6 separate regions of the Homo sapiens genome follow, and regions 1, 2, 3, 5 and 6 are each linked to region 4. Evidence: promoter capture Hi-C in human tissues and cell types (Jung and others, 2019). All regions are on one chromosome and are shown on one strand. Each heading gives the region's core, a stretch centred on a gene start or on the middle of the fragment in contact. The rest is flanking DNA. Distances are from core to core; before and after follow the strand shown. Region 1 has its middle 31 kb from the start of TAOK1. Region 2 overlaps EFCAB5 (EF-hand calcium binding domain 5). Region 3 overlaps SSH2 (slingshot protein phosphatase 2). Region 4 holds the start of CORO6 (coronin 6). Region 5 holds the start of NSRP1 (nuclear speckle splicing regulatory protein 1). Region 6 holds the start of NUFIP2 (nuclear FMR1 interacting protein 2).

Region 1 (2,777 bases), core at 13-2,512, 260 kb before region 4:
TCAGTCATTCATTCCTTCTTATGGCTGAACAATATTCTGTTGTACAAATATACTGTGTTTTGTTCCATTCACCATTTGGGTCGTTTCCACTTTTTGGCTATTATGAATAATGCTGTTGTGAACATTCACATACAAGCTTCTGTGTGGTCATATATTTTCATTTCTCTTGAGCAGTACCTAGGAGTGAAATTGCTGAGTCATAGAGTAAGTTTATGTTGAACTTTTTTTTTTTTCGAGATGGAGTCTCACTCTATCGCCCAGGCTAGAGTGCAGTGGCGCAATCTCGGCTCACTGCAACCTCTGCCTCCTGGGTTCAAGCAATTCTCCTGCCTCAGCCTCCCAAGTAGCTGGGACTACAGGTGCGTGCCACCGGGCCCGGCTAATTTTTTGTATTTTTAGTAGAGATGGGATTTCACTGTGTTAGCCAGGATGGTCTCGATCTCCTGACCTCGTGATCTGCCCGCCTCAGCCTCCCAAAGTGCTGGGATTAGAGGCTTGAGCCACCACTCCTGGCCTATGTTGAACTTTTAAAGAAACTCCAAAACTATTTTCCAAAGTGGCAGTATCATTTTATATTCCCACTAACAATGCATGAAGGTTCTAATTTCTCCATAACCTCATACACATTTGGCATTGTCGGTCTTTTTAATTATAACCATTCTAGTGAATGTGAAGTGGTATCTCTGTGGTTTCAGTTGGCATTTCCCTAATGACTAATGCTGTTGAATATCTTCTACTACATTTGTTAGCCATCCATATATCTTCTTTGGTGAGAACTCATGACTACAAAGTAAATGCCACTCAACCAATGTTTCCCAAACATGCCATACACATTCTTGCCTCTCTGCTTTTTATTTATTTATTTTTTTGAGACAGGGTCTCCCTGTATCACCCAGGCTGGAGTGCTGTGGTGCCATCACAGCTCACCGCAGCCTCAACCTCCTCGAGCAATCCTCCCACCTCAGACTCCCAAGTAGCTGGGACTCCAGGTGCCCGCCATCAAGGCTGGCTAATTTTTGTGTTTTTTGTAGAGACGGGGTTTCACCATGTTGCCCAGGCTGGTTTAAACTCCTAAGCTCAGGCAAACTGCCTGCCTTGGCCTCCCAAAAGGAGACCTCCCAAAGTGCTGAGATTACAGACATGAGCCGTCGTGCCTGGCCACCTCTCTGCTTTTAAGTATACTCTTCTTCTAATCTAAAATGCCCTGTTATTTTATGATCCAAATTTACCATTTCAAAAAATTTATCGGCCAGGCATGGTGGCTCATGCCTGTAATCCCAGCGCTTTAGAAGCCCAAGATGGGTGGATCACCTGAGGTCAGGAGTTCAAGACCAGCCTGGCCAACATGGTGAAACCCCGTCTGTATTAAAAATACAAAAAATTAGCCAGGAGTGGTGGCGCATGCCTGTAATCCCAGCTACTCGGGAGGCTGAGACAGGAGAATTGCTTGAACCCAGGAGGCAGAGGTTGCAGTGAGCTGAGATCGTGCCATTGCACTCCAGCCTGGGTGACAGAGCGAGACTTCCTCTCAAAAAAAAAAAAAAAAAAAAAAAAAAAATATATATATATATATATATAAACTAGCCAGGCGAGGTGGTGGGCGTCTATAATCCCAGCTACTCAAGAGGCTGAGGCAGGAGAATCATTTGAACCCAGGAGGCAGAGGTTGCAGTGAGCTGAGATCACTCCACTGCACTCCAGCCTGGGCAACAGAGTGAAACTGTCTCAAAAAAAAAAAAAAAGTAAGGCCAGGCGCGGTGGCTCATGCCTGTAATCCCAGCACTTTGGGAGGCCGAGGTGGACAAATCACCGGAGGTCAGGAGTTCATGACGAGGTGGCCAACATGGTGAAACCCCGTCTCTACAAAAATACAAAAATTAGCTGTGTGTAATCCCAGTTACTAGGGAGGCTGAGGTGGGAGAACTGCTTGAACCTGGGAGGCAGAGGCTGCAGTGAGCCGAGATCGTGCCACTGTACTCCAGCCTGGGCAACAGAGCGAGACTGTCTCAAAAAAAAAAAAAATTACCCACAGATTCTCATCTCCTGTAAGAGTAATGTTGGTCCAACCCTTTACACTTCCTATCTGTCACAGTATTCTCATACAGCAATAAGACAATAAATGTTAAGTTTATGAATGGACTTTGACCTGGTTAAAACATACAAATTCTATTCCATTTCTGAGCAGAACAGATCCTCAATATATATTTCTTGAAAATGGGTACTATAGAAGATACAAAGACAAATAAAGCAAAATAAAATATAAAAATGTTTTATTGGCTGGGTGCGGTGGCTTATGCCTGTAATCCCAGCACTTCAGGAGGCTGAGGTGGGTGGATCACAAGGTCAGGAGTTCAAAACCAGCCTGGCCAAGATGGTGAAACCCTGTCTCTGCTAAAACTACAAAAATTAGCCAGGCATGGTGGCAGGTGCCTGTAACCTAGCTACTTGGGAGGCTGAGGCAGGAGAATCGTTTGAACCTGGGCGGCAGAGGTTGCAGTGAGCCAAGATCGCGCCACTGCACTCCAGCCTGGGTGACAGAGCGAGACTCTGTCTCAAAAAAAAAAAAAGTTTTATCATCTAATACGATGCACAGATATGGGTCCTGCTGTGGTTTGAATGTGTTCCCCAAGGAATACATGTTGGAAACAATCCCCAACGCCAACAGTGTTGGGAGGTAGGGCCTAATGGGAGGTGTTTAGGTCATGAGGATGGAGCCCTCATGAATGTGTTAATATAATATCCAATTAAAAAGGGCTTAAGGCTGTGAGTTCTATGGC
Region 2 (2,752 bases), core at 125-2,624, 460 kb after region 4:
CCAATGTGCTGCAGAGACAAGTGGGGTGTCCCTAGAGCCGGTGTATAGTGAGACCTTTAAGGCCCTCATGCAGGTACGTTTCCTAAAGCAGTATGTAAGAGGAAACATTTCCTCAAAGTAGGCGATGTTCAATGTTTGCAAAAGAGGAGCATCTTGAATTCTCTTGAAAAATCACTGGGTGCTGCTGTAGATATTTTATTCATTCCAGTCCATTACAAATGGCCCAAAGCCTAGGAGAGATACAACTGGAGTGACTGCTGGTTGACAAGATAGAAGCAGAGGAGAAAGGTAGAAAAGACAGATGTAGAAAAGATGTCTTGGGATTTCTAATTTCATTTCTGCTAAGAGTCAAATAAGCCTAGAATGGACAATAGACAGATTATGAACAATATCAGTAAGGAGATGTACAAGCAGTTCAAGCTACATTTCCCTTGCATGGTATTTTGGGAGTCAGTTTTAAAAGGAACTATTTAAATCATAAACTCATTATCGAGTCTGACACCACACAATATTTCACAGCATTGCCTAGAAGCAAGCTGAGACTACTGCAGAATCCTGTCACTTAGAACGCATGGCCCTGAGGGGCTACTGCCTACAGCCTTGCCACCTCCTCAGAGACTCCCAGGTTGCTGCTATTCACAGGCAGAAACAGCACAGCCGCCTTCTACATGTATCATAGATTCCACTAATCCAGGGAACCTATGCCAGTCATCTCAGCTAAATAGCGATACTTGCTCAATTGAATCATCTCCTGAATGGCCGAATTTTCCAGTGTAGTTGGAAATGGGGCACCGGGACCAAAAGACCACTCAAGAAGAAGAGGCATTGTTCTAACTTGCTTCAGAGGTCTGTGGTATCCTAAGAGAAATCTCGCTACATATTTGTTAATGACTCCATAGATCTTGTATGTGGAAAGAAGGAATAAAGGCAAAAGAAAAGGGCATGGAAAGCAAACCCAAATATATAGAAAGAGGAGAAAAATATCAAGGAAAGTGTCTCACATGTCCCCAATTTATGGATATGTTTAATGTATATATTGACACATAATATTGTTAATAACATAATAATAATATTTAAGGTACAGAGAATTTATAGTTGCAGAAATAGTAGTTGCAGAAAGTCTGCAATCTTGGGCCACAAAAAAATCCTTCCTGAAATTACATAGATCAAATATACAAAGTGTGTTAAGAGTTCCTCGAGAGCATTTTTTTTCACTTTCACATCACAGTCGACGGTCAAGAAATATGAGTGAAGTGAAGGCAACTTCTTGGCCCAGCTCTCTCTCTCTCAAATCAACACTTTCAATAGAAACACAGACAGTTGACCATAGGTCAAAGGAATCCAAGTTTTAAACCTCTAAATTTGAGTAGACTTGAGAGTTTTTTGGTTTTGTTTTTCTTTTCTGGTAAACCAGTCCAGTTGGCATAGAAGAAACCCGTTATACCCACTGAAACTCAGACTTACAGGATAGCTATGCTGTCAACCTTTTCCCCACTGCCCATGAATAGTAATATATGCATTCTTTATTCAGGAAAATGAAACTACTGGGGCAAGATGCATGAATTAACTAGTAAGGGGGACATGATTAGGGGAGTTCTTTGGCTGTTGGCAAACACATGGTCGGAAACGTTTTGCTGTAGGATGCTGAAGCCCATGGAAATAAAAAGATCAGTGCTCACATTTCCCTCTTAGAAGAAAACCTACTACTGCCTGAGAAAGGGAATGTTCTATTGAGGAATGTGGCTTGTACCTTAGATGATGCTCAATTTGTACTGAACAGAGTGCTCTACAGGGACATGAAAGGAATCAGGTAAGAACTTCTTGAAGAGATTGGTTTCACCCTCCTAAAAAAATAATTCCCTTTCTGAGTAAACTGGCATCAAGATCCCAGCTAGCTGCTCAAAAGAGAGGTGCCTCAAGTCACCAGTGCTTCTGGAGTAGAAGCTGATGGCTTCCAGTCCTGGATGATTTCACTTATTTCTAGAGCTCGCTCTTTGGTAATGATTCGCCACATGGGGACTCTGCGTCACAATATCATCTCAATTATTTCTGCCTGCTCCATAAGTTATGTCTCTGGAGTTCTGTTTATATTTGTTTTCTATGTCCACATCCAAGCTTGTTTTTTTTTTTTTTGTTTGTTTGTTTTGTTTTTGTTTTAGTCTTTCTCAAGTCAGACCTCCAAACTGGTCATCTTATCTGAGTCCACTGCTCGGTCATATAATGCCACAGATTGTGAATAGAGAATCGCTCTAGTTTCCTCCATGGTTTAATCTAAATCTCTCCCTGTGCCTTTCTTCCATCCTCATACTCTTTTTCCTCAGCTTTACAGTAGTGGATGAAGGGAAGCCAATCCATGTTCCCCAAGTTCAGTACCATGGGAACATCTTCTTCTGGAACCAGTCCCGTAATAAGCATGATTATAATGGTTCATTCCTGGCTCTGCCTCTTCAAGATGCATATATGAGGATCTTTGGGGTCTTGGCTGTTGATACCCTTAGAGATCCCCACGAAATAAACATCTTTCTACCTCATGAGATCAGATTCTATCAGGTAAGTCATAGAAGTCTTCAAGAGCGATGGTAGGATGGCCTCTCTTTCTAATACTTTTTAAAGAGTGAAACCTGAAATCCGATGAGAGTAAAGCTGTGTATACAGATAACATCATCATACTTGCTCCTGTTCCCTGAATGTATGTTTCAGTCTTTTGAGAAGTTCCCCATTACTTATGGAAGGACTTTCAGCCTCAGTTACA
Region 3 (3,138 bases), core at 388-2,887, 260 kb after region 4:
TGGGGGCTTTCAGGGTTCTGTCCTTGGCATCTATCTCCATGGGCATTCCTTGAGTGATGTCATCTCTCTCACAGCTTCAAGAGACTACAAACATTACTTTAGGATATTTTCATCACTGGTCTTCTTGGATATCTTACTGCCTAATTGGAACATGTTTGCTAACATATTCCACAGGATTACATACCTCAGCTGGTCCGCAACTGAACTCATCTTCCCACTAAAGCTTTACTTCTTGTACTTTTGTTAATATCATCTGCCATCTACTCAGCCCAACCAAGCTCAAAGTCTTCAAGAGTTAACCAGTCTTCTATCTTTATTTCACCTCATAATCCATCATCAGGCCTCTACCACTTCACTTTTTATATATTTCTGTAATCTATCTCATCCTGTCTATCCCAACCACAACTGCCTTAGTTTGAGTCTATGTTAGTTCCAGGACTTGGCAACTGCAACAATCCACTCTAAATTGTAACTCTGACCTTACATCTCTACATAAAACTTTTATGTTCCTCACTGCCAAAAGCAGTATTTTTTGTGTCAGGGTTACCTGTGGATGCTTGTAAAGATGCATATTCCTGGGTCAATCTGCATTTTTACATATTTTTCAACTTATTCTGATGCAATGTAAAGCCTGAGTACGGGCTAAAGTTTAAGTTTAAATTTCTTACCAAGGCATAAAAAGCCTCCAAGGTCTTGGCTCTTGCCTACTTAGTTCTCTAATCTAGCACCTCCCTTTTTCTCCCATCACGTGCTTTATTATCTAGAGTACTGAATTCATTTACACTTATCCAAGTGTCTCTGGCTTCCATGCTTTTGCTGTTCCTCTTTCTTCTCACCAAGTCTTATGCAACCTATTGCATATTATGCTTTTTTTCTATCAAGCAGGTACTAACTTTTAACTCTTATTAACCAAAGACTGGGGTTTCTTGCTATTGTATCATAAAAAAAAAAAAAAAAAAAAAAATCAGGTCTTTTTCCCCAGTTCCTGACACAGAGCTCCTAAAACCCTTGGAATTTCCTGAGTGACACGAGTGATAGAAGCATCTTTAGTTTTAAGGAAGTGTCTCTTGGCTGGCCCCTAGATAGCTTTAGGATGGGAGCTAGTCACCAGAAACACCAATCCTTGATTAGAAGCTTGTAATTTTCAGCTCCATCACATAACCAGGGAAGGAGTGGAGATTGAGTCAGTTACCAATGACCAATGATTTAATCAATAATGCTTACTGATATGGTTTGGGTATGTACCCACCTAAATCTCATCTTGAATTGTAGCTCCCATAATTCCCACATGTGATGGGAGGGAGCCAGTGGGAGGTAATTGAATCATGGAGGCTGGTTTTTCCTGTGCTGTTCTGGTGATAGCAAGTCTCACGAGATCTGATGGTTTTATAAAGTGGATTTCCCCTGCACATGGCTCTCTTGCCTGCCGCCATGTAAGATGTCCTTTTGCTCTTCCTTATTCTTCCACCATGATTGTGAGGCCTCCCCAGCCATGTGGAACTGTGAGTCCATTAAAACTCTTTCCTTTATAAATTACCCAGTCTCAGGTATGTCTTTATTAGCAGCGTGAGAACAGACTAATACAGTAAATAGGTACCAGGTAGTGGGGCACTGCTATAAAGATACCCGAAAATGTGGAAGCAACTTTGGAACTGAGTAGCAGGCAGAGGTTGGAACAGTTTCGAGGACCCGGAAGAAGACAGAAAAATGTGGGAAAGTTTGGAACTTCCTAGAAACTTGGAGGGCTCAGAAGACAGGAAGATATGGGAAAGTTTGTAACTTCCTAGAGACTTGTTGAATGGCTTTGACCAAAATGCTCATAGCGATATGGACAATAAGGTCCAGGCTGAGGTGGTCTCAGATGGAGATAAGGAACTTGGGAACTGGAGCAAAGGTGACTCTTGCTATGTTTTAGCAAAGAGACTGGTGGCATTTTGCCCCTGCCATAGAGTTCTGTGGAACTTTGAACTTGAGAGAGATGATTTAGGTATCTGGTGGAAGAAATTTCTAAGTGGCAAAGTGTTCAAGAAGAAGCAGCGCATAAAAGTTTGGAAAATGGCCGGGTGTCGTGGCTCACACCTGTAATCCCAGCACTTTGGGAGGCTGAGGTGGATGGACCACCTGAGGTCAGGAGTTTGGGACCAGCCTGACCAATATGGTGAAACTCTGTCTCTACTAAAAATACAAAAATTAGTCAGGCATGGTAGCGTGCACCTGTAGTCCCAACTACTCGGGAGGCTGAGACAGGAGAATTGCTTGAACCCAGGCGGTGGAGGTTGCAGTGAGCCAAGATCATGCCACTGCACTCCAGCCTGGGCGACAGAGAAAGACTCCATCTCAAAAAAAAAAAAAAAAAAAGTTTGAAAAATTTGCAGACTGATGATGTGATAGAAAATAACCCATTTTCTGGGGAGAAATTCAAGCCTGCTGAAGAAGTTGCATAAGTAACAAGGGGCTGAATGTTAATCACCAATTATAGCGCTCCTTCAACTTCTATTACACAGTTCTGAAGACACTTTACCAAGAGTATGTGGTATCCTTAAGTGCTAAAGCTGGACAGGACCTTAGAGATTAAAGATTTTTTTCTCGGATAAGAAAACCAGGACTAGAAAGATGAAAAGATTGACCAGAGCCAGAGTTAAGTGGTAGCAAAGCCAGATGAATGGCTCTCCTATCGAGCCAATGTAATTTCTTCAACATCATGCAGCTTATACTACTTTGGGGCCACCTATCTTATTTAATTATATGCCTATAGAGGATATTTTGTTAACAACTTAATACTTGAGATCAGTAGTAGTGTTATAAAAGCAAGCTATTAGCATAGAACACAATAAAAAAAAATCTTGGAGCAGGCATAGAAATTTTTGTACATCTTAGATATTATAACTACGAAATTATTTAGTGAGGATCAATAGAGGATAAACTTGAGCTTTAGTAAGAATAAACAAAAACAAAACAGAGTACTTTAGGTGTATTTCCTAGGTCCTATTTCCTAGACCCATCAAAAATGACATGGAATTCAAGACTGGAGTTTAAGACAAGAAGGGTAAGGCAGGCCAATCTTTGGTACGTGCTTTCAAGACAAGGGTCTCTGAAGTCGGATTGCCTGGATTCTAATCCTGTCCTACCCCTTATCTG
Region 4 (2,889 bases), core at 277-2,776:
GCGGAACTTGCTTTGCCGAACCACACGTCTGCTCATAGCTGCAGGCAGAGAGGTAGGATCTCAGTGCCCAGAAATGCCTTTGGTCCTTAGTCCTGTGAGCTGCGGGAGGGAGGAGGAGTGGAGGGGTGGCTGATGAGAAGGGTTATGTGGTCAGGAGTCAGGTATAAATCCATATAGTGTCTGGTCCTAGAAGCAGGGAGCTTTCTTCAAGGTGGTCAAAGTATGGGAAAGTTATTTTGCTGTGTAAAATGCTGTTTAATGTAAGTGGCTAGGATTTGGGGCCTGAATTCTCCACAGAGACCCAGGCTGAGGGGATTGTGGAGCCTAACAGACTGAAAGCTTTCTGGACGTTGGAATGTTTTTGGGAGGAGCCTCAATGCCACACTGCCTGCACCCCCCGCCCCCACCACCGCCAGCCTTGATGAGCATCTCTTCACGGACGTGGTTGTAGCTCCCAGAGGCACCCTGTCCAGAAGCAGAAGACTTGACCATTGGATCTTGGCTTAAAGCCAGGTATGGGGCCAAGACTGCAGCCACCACAGGATACCGAACTCGCATCTCTGGAATAGTTCAGGCAGATGGGGTTTTGCCTTTTCCTAAAATTTTGCCAAGGGGGAAGTTCCTCCTGTCCACCAATCTGAGTCCTTTCTGCTACTGTTTTCATCCCATGCCTTGTGGGGGGACGGGTGGCAGCACAGAGTGAGGTGGATCCCTCTTCTCCCACTCCTTTCTGCACTGGCTTCTCCAGGAAGCCCTGATCATGGTCTTCTGGCTTTTGCCTACCATAGGCTTGTCCGGTTTCTCCTCTGGGTCCTCTGCCCTGGTTGGGCCTTCTTCCTAGTGAACTCTTCTAGGGGTGGGGTCTTCAACCCCATCCTCCACCCCTGCCCCCGCCACGGCCAAGCCAGATTTGCAGGGGTGGGGAGGGTGAGGTGCCTTTTCTCCAGCTAGGGTCTCCCTAGAGGACACACTGAGCACTCCCAAAGCCCCAGCCAGTGGCTCCTGCCCCACCCCAGCCCCAGCATCCGTGTGCCCTTCAAGGCGCGTCTGCGGCCCCGAGCCTGAGGCCCGGCCTCCCTGCACCCTTCTTCAGCCTGCTGCCCTGACACTGCGTTCTTGCGAGACGAGGTGTCTGCGCCCTCCGGGAGCGCTGGCTGCTGTCCGGCCAAATATAGACACCACGTCCTCCCCGCCCGAAACCGAATTTGGCGGCGCGGGGGGAGGAGGCGCAGACCTCTGCCCCTCAGGGACCCCGCCCGCTCCGCTGGCTGCGGTGACGGCCGGGTGTGGGGGGCTGGGTACCTGGTCCTGAGCGGGCTGCGGGGCGCTCACGCTGCGAATCCTCTGCGGAAGGGGCCCGAGTGCGTAGGGGGCCGAGGAAGGCTTCAGGGCGAAGGAGCCACCTCTCCGGGTGTCTGTAGTATCTGGGACCCGGGTGTCCAGCTCCGCACTCTGGCCGATCCTGCGGCTCTCTAGAGCCCGGCGCCGCTGCAGCCCCAGCTGCCGCTGCCATCAACCTAAGAGGGCGGGGCTAGCATAGGGGCGGGGCCAGAGCCCAAGTTGCCCCGCCCCCTCCAGCGGCGGGAAAGTCGAGCGACCCCGACTCCCCTCCCAGCTTCCGCCGGCCTCGGAGAACCATCGAAAATAAATGTGCAGCTGTGTGCTAGGTGCGCACGCTGCTTCCCTCCCTCCATGACTCCCGGGTAGGCTGGGGAGGCTCGGGTTCGCAGACCTAGAGCAGGACGCTTGGAGAGGGAACGGGCGAGGGGGCGTGCGCCCCTAGAGCGGGCAGCCGAGGGAGACCAGGTGCCTCCACCCGCATTCCAGCCTCAATCGCGCTCCCAATTTAGCTGTCCCGATCGGCCGGGACTGCGGGACTGCACTTCCAGGCCTCCCTGGGGGAAAGAGGCCCTAGAGAATGAGGACCCAGGCTGATCCTGATGTAGGGCAAGTGAGAGGGCACCCGACACAGGGTTGTGAATGTTAGTTATTGTTATGAATGGCAATAGCGATCATTTGAGAAACCTAAAATGCTGGCTGTGTGCTAGGCATTTCACCCCATTAGATGAGATTCCATGGAGCAGGGCAGGAAGCAGCTGAAAGAACAAGGGGAGGACCGAGTGTAAAGTGAACCCACCTTGACACTCCCTCCCCTCCCAGATGCAGGGGGAAGAGGCTAGCACCGGTCTCTAGTCACATTTTAGGGGTCAGAGAAGCCAACTCAGAGGCCAGACTCCTAATGTTTTCTGGGCCTTGTTTGAATTGGCGCCCGACTGTGTTCCAGGTAAGCTTCCCCCGTCTCCCCCAATATTCACAGAACTGAATGTTGACCGAGGTCAAGGAGATTAAAGATAACCTGATCAAAATACAGCCAGTGAAGACCAGCCAGTCCCGTAGCTCCAGTCTACCCAGTGTCTGCACATTGCCTGGATTTCTTCCCTTGGATCATAAGGGCATCTGGGGCCAGTTATTACTTCCCACCCTCCAGGGCACACCTGGGAGTGAGTGAATGGAACACAGCCTTCTGAAGGGCAGGAACCAGCACTGGGGAGGAAAGGGAGGGAAGGTGGTAGAAACCATGAAGGGCCCACGAGGCTCCTTTGTTTCTCAGGAAGAGTCCAGGTGGCTTGTAGGGACAGAATCAAATCAAGAGTCAGTGGCTTGTAGGGGAACAGAATAAAAAACTGTTACGAGTGCTCCAGAAATAACTCCTGGCGTAGGGGTGCTGGGGCAGGGTATGAGGGTATGTGAGTCATCTCTCTTTTACCTAAAGATTCCAGGCACATGATTAGGAGGAAAATACCTGAGTGACTCAGTTGCTCCTTTACAACAATAACCCATGCTTATGTGCTAGGCACTGGCACTAAGGGCTTTATACGTATTAATTTC
Region 5 (3,119 bases), core at 5-2,504, 490 kb after region 4:
GACTAGCTGGGAATGAACCAAGAGTGAATGAGTGCACAGATGTGGGCAGAGTTTTCAAAAAGGTATCATATATGGGCCAGGCACGGTGGCTCACGCCTGTAATCCCAGCACTTTGGGAGGCTGAGGCGGGTGGGTCACATGAGGTCAGGAGTTTGAGACCAGCCTGGCCAACATGGTGAAACCCCGCCTCTACTAAAAAAATACAAAAATTAGCCAGGCATGGTGGCGGACGCCTGTAATCTCAGCTACTCAGGAGGCTGAGGCAGGAGAATCGCCTGAACCTGGGAGGCGGAGGTTGCAGTGAGCCAAGATTATGCCACTGCACTCCAGCCTGGGCGACAAGAGCGAGACTACGTCTCAAAAAAAAAAAAAAAAAAAAAAAAGTATCATATATGATCCTGATTCCTATACCCAATGGCCCGTGAACAGTATTATTAATAATTTTGGTCCTTGGGCCGGGCGCGGTGGCTCATGCCTGTAATCCCAGCAATTTGGGAGGCCGAGTCGGGCGGATCACCCGAGGTCGGGAGTTCGAGACCAGCCTGACCAACATGGAGAAACCCCGTCTCTACTAAAAATACAAACTTAGCCGGGCGTGGTGGCACATGCCTGTAATCCCAGCTACTCGGGAGGCTGAGGCAGGAGAATCGCTTGAACCCGGGAGGCGGAGGTTGAGGTAACCGAGTTCGCGCCTTTGCACTCTAGCCTGGGCAACAAGAGCGAAACTCCGTCTCAAAAAAAAAATTTTTTTTTTAATAATAATTTTGGTCCTATGTAAGGTATTATTAATACACAGATTTTCATTTTTCGCCTAATTATCCTGAACCAGTTAAAGTGAACACTTGGAAGGGGGTAGGGGGAATATCGATAGCCATGGCAGTGGTTTTCAAACTTTATCAGAATTACCCGCTGGTTAAAATTCAGATAACTCGCTTCACTCCAAAGTTTCTGATTCTGCAGGTTTGGGGTAGGGCCCGAGAATTTGTCATTTTAACAGTATCTCCGGTGTTGCTGATGCCGCTGGTCCCAGAACCACACACTGCGAACAACTGGCCTAGAACGTTGTCATTCCTTTCTCCTACAGATTTTGAGGCAGCCGGTGGGCTCCGAAACAAAACAGAGGTCACTGGATCCGATTCCCAGTACCATAGAAGTGACTCAAACCAGCGATTCAACCGACAAGCAGGATCCGGGCCACCCAAAGCCGCGCGAGAGTTTACGTGACGACATCGGCGTCAGCGTCACGGAGGCGTCGGCCACGTTCAGCGGACACGGGAGCAAGATGGCGATTCCGGGCAGGCAGTGAGTGATCCGGGAGTTAGGGTCAGGCTGGGGGATGAGAAACTACGGCGACTGTATCTTTGGCCGAGGAGTTTTAAATGCGCTGGAAGTGAAGGGACTGTGTCGTCAAGGGTAGAGACGGGAAAAAACGAGAAGTCCTGAGGAACATAGATTCCCCTCCCCCGTACATTTTCCCGGATGGAAGCCCGAAGTTTGAGGGAGAAACTTGTGAGGAAATAAAGGAAGTTAGGCTGAGGGGCAGAGAGCGAGACTTTTCTATTTTCCAAAAGCTCGGTCTGAGGCCCCTCAGTCTTGCTTCCTAACCCGCGCTTGAGTTTCTCCCCGCTTGGATGCTCTCAGGGGCAGTGTGAAGAGAGACAGTTCCTGGCTTCCTTAGAGGGCCTTGTTCTCCTTGGCAGAAGCTCAAGTCCTGATTCCCGCCCTTCCTTCTCGTTTTAGGAATATTGTTCTGAGAAGCCACAGAAAAAGGGTAGGCATATAGGAAATTGGGGTATACGTTGCCGCAAAAGAGACAAATACTGTACGTACTTGAAAGTTTTACCTTTGATGTGTAATCCTTACTTTTGATGCGGCCTCCCGTGATCTCCGCATCTTAAAGGCCAAAACGTGAGAAACTAAAGGAGTTGGATCTGATGGGATGGTTCTCTCAGATGCTCCGAGGCAAAGCACATGATCTTAATAAAGTGTAATGCGAACTTGCCCCATGGCTACTTGGGTTTCTCAGTTATCTTTTAAAAATTTTCGTGAGTTACACTATCCAGTCAGTTCTTAGAAACTGTGTAAGTACACAGTAGGAAAAAAAATCTAGCCATTTTCTTGACTGTTTAGACCACAAGGATAGTTGAAAGCATTTTAAAATCTTTAGTGGACATGAACTAAACTTTCCACTACACATGTTTTTTTTTTTTTTTTTTAAATGTTACTGTCACTTCGCCATCTTAAAACATTTCTGAACTTTTCATTTACTTCTCTTCTTTGATAAAAATGGTATTCGAGTTTGGCCCGTGTCCACAAATGATCACTTAGAGTAGTAATTATAGAATCTTACGGCATGTTAGAATTTTGAGATCACTGAGAAGCAAAAACAGTCTGTTACGTGTTCATAAAGCTTATGACATGTTTTGATTTGGTAGCTTCATGTGGAAGAGGTAGTAGATGTATTTGTTAACATTTAAACATAAAGGTTTAATTTCTATTTCAAAAAAAATATATGCAGGTATGGGCTTATTTTGCCAAAGAAAACACAGCAGTTGCACCCTGTTTTGCAAAAACCATCAGTGTTTGGGAATGATTCTGATGATGATGATGAGGTAAGGAAACCTATGTTTTACTCGTGCATGGTTGGAAATGTAAATTTTTTAAAAATTGAACTTGTGACTCTGATACCTTTGCCTTTGTTATTTGTCAGTACAGTGGAGTATAATTTACAGAATTGTCAAAAAGGAAGGTGTAAAGAAAGCAGCTCCACCGATTTTTTAAAGATTTTTTTCCCTCTAAAAGCTGCAAACTTTACCTTTAAACAAATACACGGTCTTTTCAGACTACTGAAATTGTCATAACAAAATTGTTGGTGTAAAGATCCCTAGGTATGAGTTATTAAGATGTCACCAATTTTCTACAAATTTTTATTAGCAAAGCAGTTTTTAATTTGTTAACCATGAGCTAAGATCACTATATAACAGTTCTTAACAACGCTACTTTTTTTTTAAATTCAGTGTCTGCCAAATGTAATTGCTCAGTTATAATCGTGGTAGTGAATAGTTACTCTTGATAGTACTACAGTAACATCTAATATCAACATTTTCTATTTTAGCAGC
Region 6 (2,870 bases), core at 135-2,634, 330 kb before region 4:
GCAGGCCGCTCCCCTCGTGGCCGCTTCCCTCCCCCACCCCAACCGCCCCCGCCCCTCACCCCAGGGACCCGCCCGGGGCCGCGCGCCGCCACCGGGTTACACAACCCCGGCCGGCGACGGGGGGGGGGGCGGCCGCGGTGCGGGGGGCGCCGGCGCCCCCGCAGTGCAGGGGGCGAGGCTGCGGCCGGTGGTGATCCCGGGTCACCCGGCTCCGCCGCCCCGTGTGGCCCTCGACACCCTTCCCCCTCCGCTCCTCAGTGGGCCGGAGTCGGTGACAGGAATCGGCTTCCAACATGGCGGACAGGAAGCGGCCCCGCGAGGAGGAGAGAACATTCCAGCCGCGCCGGCTCTGGGGGGAGCGGGCGCGGGGCGCCGGCCTCGGGAGGAGCCGCGGGACAAGACTGCGGGGTCCGGCGCCCAAAAAGGGCGTTTAGTGGTGGAAATGACCCGTGAGATGAGGGGTCCCAACAGCCCCCCCCACCGAGACGGGGAGCCCCAAGGCCACAGGTGGGCTTGGGGTGGCGGGTGAGGGGCACTTCCTCAACTCACCCTACCTACCCACTCCTCGCCGCCTGCAAAAGGGTCTCGCGACACCATCCGAGTCGGGATTCGCTAGGCCTTCCTGAGTTACACCTCGAGGGATTTTTTGGGGGGGTAGGTTTACCCCATCTCAGGGCCCCCAAATTGAGGTAACTCCAGGGACGCAGGGAGGTGAATGGGAAAAGAATAATGAGGTTGGACTTGCAAGGCCGACCCAGCAGGTCTCCCTTCAGCCGGGGCCGGGGCCAGGAAGGTCACGCTGGCCTGGCTGGGCCTCTCCCATGCTGGAGGGAAGGAGAGGGCGCTGCAAACCCCATTGCTCAGCCCGAGCTCTAGAATGAAAGGGGCATCCCCAGAGCCGGAGGGGACACACACACACACACCCCGACCCCGTCCGCGCTTTTCGGATCCAGCCCCACCCCCATCTCTCCTGTCCTCCACCCCCAACCCCCTTCCCCCACCCGTCCTCCCTCCCAGACCTGTTTTCTTCTTCGGCGTTTCCTGGTGCTGCTGGAGGGTGTGTTTCTGCTCATGTTTCAGCGGCTTTGGCTGGGCCTTGGGGCTGCCCTCGGCTCCATGCTGCAGGTATTGGTGAGGCTGCTGGTGATGATGGTGGTGGTGGTGGTTGTGGCTGTGGTTGTAGAAATAATAATGGTGGTGGTGGTGCGGCTGCTGCTGCTGCTGCTGAGGGTGATGGTGCGGATGGTGGTGGCTGTGATGGTGCTGAGGCTGTGGCTGGCCGGGCTTCTCCTCCATTGAAAGCGGCTGGGACTCCCTGGCTGAGGCTGCGGGCTGCTGCACCGTCAGGATCTGAGACTGCTTCTCAGGGCTCACTCAGTATATCTGAGCGCGTCTCGCCAGCGCACTGGTTAACCGAGCGATTCTGCGAGATTGGCAGCCGCACTCCAACAATCAGGAGCCACGCTGTGCCGCAAGCCCCGCCCCCAGCTCAAATCCTCTTTCCTTCCCCTTCGCCGCTGCCGCCTGGCCAACGCCACTTACCCTGTGCAACCTCACAGGGCCGGGCCTTCAACGTCAGCACTATGGCTCTCTCTTCTGTCGCTTTCTCTCCTTCACCACGCAGTCTGTGAACAGCACTTTCTACACTCCTCGCCGGCAAGCAGGCTCGTGTCGAGGGTAGCAGATTCCACTGGCGATTCCACTGGTGCTGTGAGCCATCTGCTGGCTTTGCACCTCTTAGAATCTGGTGTTTTTTTGTTTTTTGTTTTGTTTTGTTTTTAATCCTTTTCCGGGTAACCAGAAAGGGAAGCTCAATTCCCTTAACCCCGAGACCACTAAAGGGGCAATACAAAAAGAGGAAATAAATACATTTTTAAGCATACAAGAGCTTCACAATCCAGTAGATCATTTTGTATTCTGGATTCATTTTGCTTTGTATTCATATGCTAATCTCTTCCTTTCCACGAAGGGATTATAGGGTTCCACAATGGGGTATCTGTGTAATTTTCTAAAAGGGCACAAAGGGTTTAAATCATTGTTTCTTTGTAGTTGGAGGCAAGGGAGAGCAGGAGGAATGAAAATTTACACTGAAGGTTTTTTTTTTTTTAATTAAACTCTGCAGGTGAGGTCAACTGTGGAACCAAAATAGGTTTTAGAATGAGAAGTTTCAAGAGCAAAGGAAGGGGAGAAAGAGCACTTAAAAGTTATTAAGTGGGTTTGTTTTTTTTTTTTTTGGCACTTATGGAAAAATTGAAATTAAAAGAAATATTCTGTAGCGTTTTGTAGTGTAGATTTAACTTATCCTGCATTACCACATCACAGTATATGATTTTCAAAAGCAAATGTTAGAGCCATGATAGTGGTTACTCAGGAAGGAAGAGGGTTGTGATGGGGAGGGACACAGGTTACTCTGATAATATTTCATTTTGGGGGCTAGGTGGTGATTACATATATTTGCTTAGTAATTATTTGTTAAACTGAATATACAGATAAAATGCACTTTTCCCAATGTATGTTATAGATTGGGGGATTTTTTTAATTGTAAAATATTCATAATATAAAATTTACCATCTTAATATTAAGTGTATGGTTCAGGTGCATTAGGTACATTCGTATTGTTGTAGAACCATGACCATCATCTATCTCCAGAACTTTTTCATCATTCCAAACTGAAACTTCATACCCAATAAAAATAAATGTCCTTTCCCTCCTCCTTCCATCCCTTGATAACCACTGTTCTGTTTTCTGTCTCTACGAACTTGACTATTCTAGGTACCTCATATAAGTGGGATTGTACTGTATTTGTCTTTTTGTGACTAGCTTTTTTGCATAATGTCTTCAGAGTAGCATACATCAGAATTTCCCTCTTT

What was found. Contacts are between HindIII fragments. The study calls those that stand out against the background at their distance.
Region 1: a contact is called between a fragment that was not itself captured here and the fragment with the promoter of CORO6 in region 4, in 1 of the 25 tissues and cell types used here (hippocampus).
Region 2: a contact is called between a fragment that was not itself captured here and the fragment with the promoter of CORO6 in region 4, in 1 of the 25 tissues and cell types used here (lymphoblastoid cells).
Region 3: a fragment that was not itself captured here is called in contact with the fragment with the promoter of CORO6 in region 4 in 2 of the 25 tissues and cell types used here (dorsolateral prefrontal cortex and pancreas).
Region 5: the fragment with the promoter of NSRP1 here is called in contact with the fragment with the promoter of CORO6 in region 4 in 3 of the 25 tissues and cell types used here (IMR-90 fibroblasts, dorsolateral prefrontal cortex and hippocampus).
Region 6: the fragment with the promoter of NUFIP2 here is called in contact with the fragment with the promoter of CORO6 in region 4 in 1 of the 25 tissues and cell types used here (adrenal gland).

The regions. Positions count from the first base shown.
Region 1 is chr17:29,357,896-29,360,672 of GRCh38, forward strand. No RefSeq gene overlaps it. Among named protein-coding and RNA genes, the nearest start is that of TAOK1, 31 kb to the right of the region's middle. RefSeq lists an enhancer at 1-24. The HindIII fragment of the contact is 4,445 bases long and covers 1-2,777 here.
Region 2 is chr17:30,078,432-30,081,183 of GRCh38, forward strand. EFCAB5 (EF-hand calcium binding domain 5) reads left to right here. Exons shown (of 23, transcript NM_198529.4): 15 at 1-73; 16 at 1,641-1,810; 17 at 2,322-2,550. Among named protein-coding and RNA genes, the nearest start is that of NSRP1, 37 kb to the right of the region's middle. The HindIII fragment of the contact is 7,904 bases long and covers 1-2,752 here.
Region 3 is chr17:29,884,408-29,887,545 of GRCh38, forward strand. The region is part of intron 1 of SSH2 (slingshot protein phosphatase 2); the gene reads right to left. Among named protein-coding and RNA genes, the nearest start is that of SSH2, 44 kb to the right of the region's middle. The HindIII fragment of the contact is 5,413 bases long and covers 1-3,138 here.
Region 4 is chr17:29,621,386-29,624,274 of GRCh38, forward strand. It overlaps CORO6 (coronin 6), which reads right to left and starts at 1,527. Exons shown (of 11, transcript NM_032854.4): 1 at 1,303-1,527; 2 at 1-99. The coding sequence starts at 36. RefSeq lists a silencer at 1,191-1,340 and an enhancer at 2,128-2,889. The HindIII fragment of the contact is 11,130 bases long and covers 1-2,889 here.
Region 5 is chr17:30,115,562-30,118,680 of GRCh38, forward strand. NSRP1 (nuclear speckle splicing regulatory protein 1) reads left to right here and starts at 1,255. Exons shown (of 7, transcript NM_032141.4): 1 at 1,255-1,302; 2 at 2,519-2,612. The coding sequence starts at 1,283. MIR423 (microRNA 423) reads left to right here and starts at 1,518; the gene lies at 1,518-1,611. It overlaps MIR3184 (microRNA 3184), which reads right to left and starts at 1,599; the gene lies at 1,525-1,599. RefSeq lists enhancers at 766-1,965, 998-1,117, 1,138-1,237, 1,268-1,367 and silencers at 1,080-1,681, 1,618-1,687. The HindIII fragment of the contact is 9,957 bases long and covers 1-3,119 here.
Region 6 is chr17:29,292,764-29,295,633 of GRCh38, forward strand. It overlaps NUFIP2 (nuclear FMR1 interacting protein 2), which reads right to left and starts at 1,385. Exons shown (of 4, transcript NM_020772.3): 1 at 1,020-1,385. The coding sequence starts at 1,296. RefSeq lists silencers at 54-233, 864-983 and enhancers at 690-1,450, 1,144-1,243, 1,554-1,753. The HindIII fragment of the contact is 16,686 bases long and covers 1-2,870 here.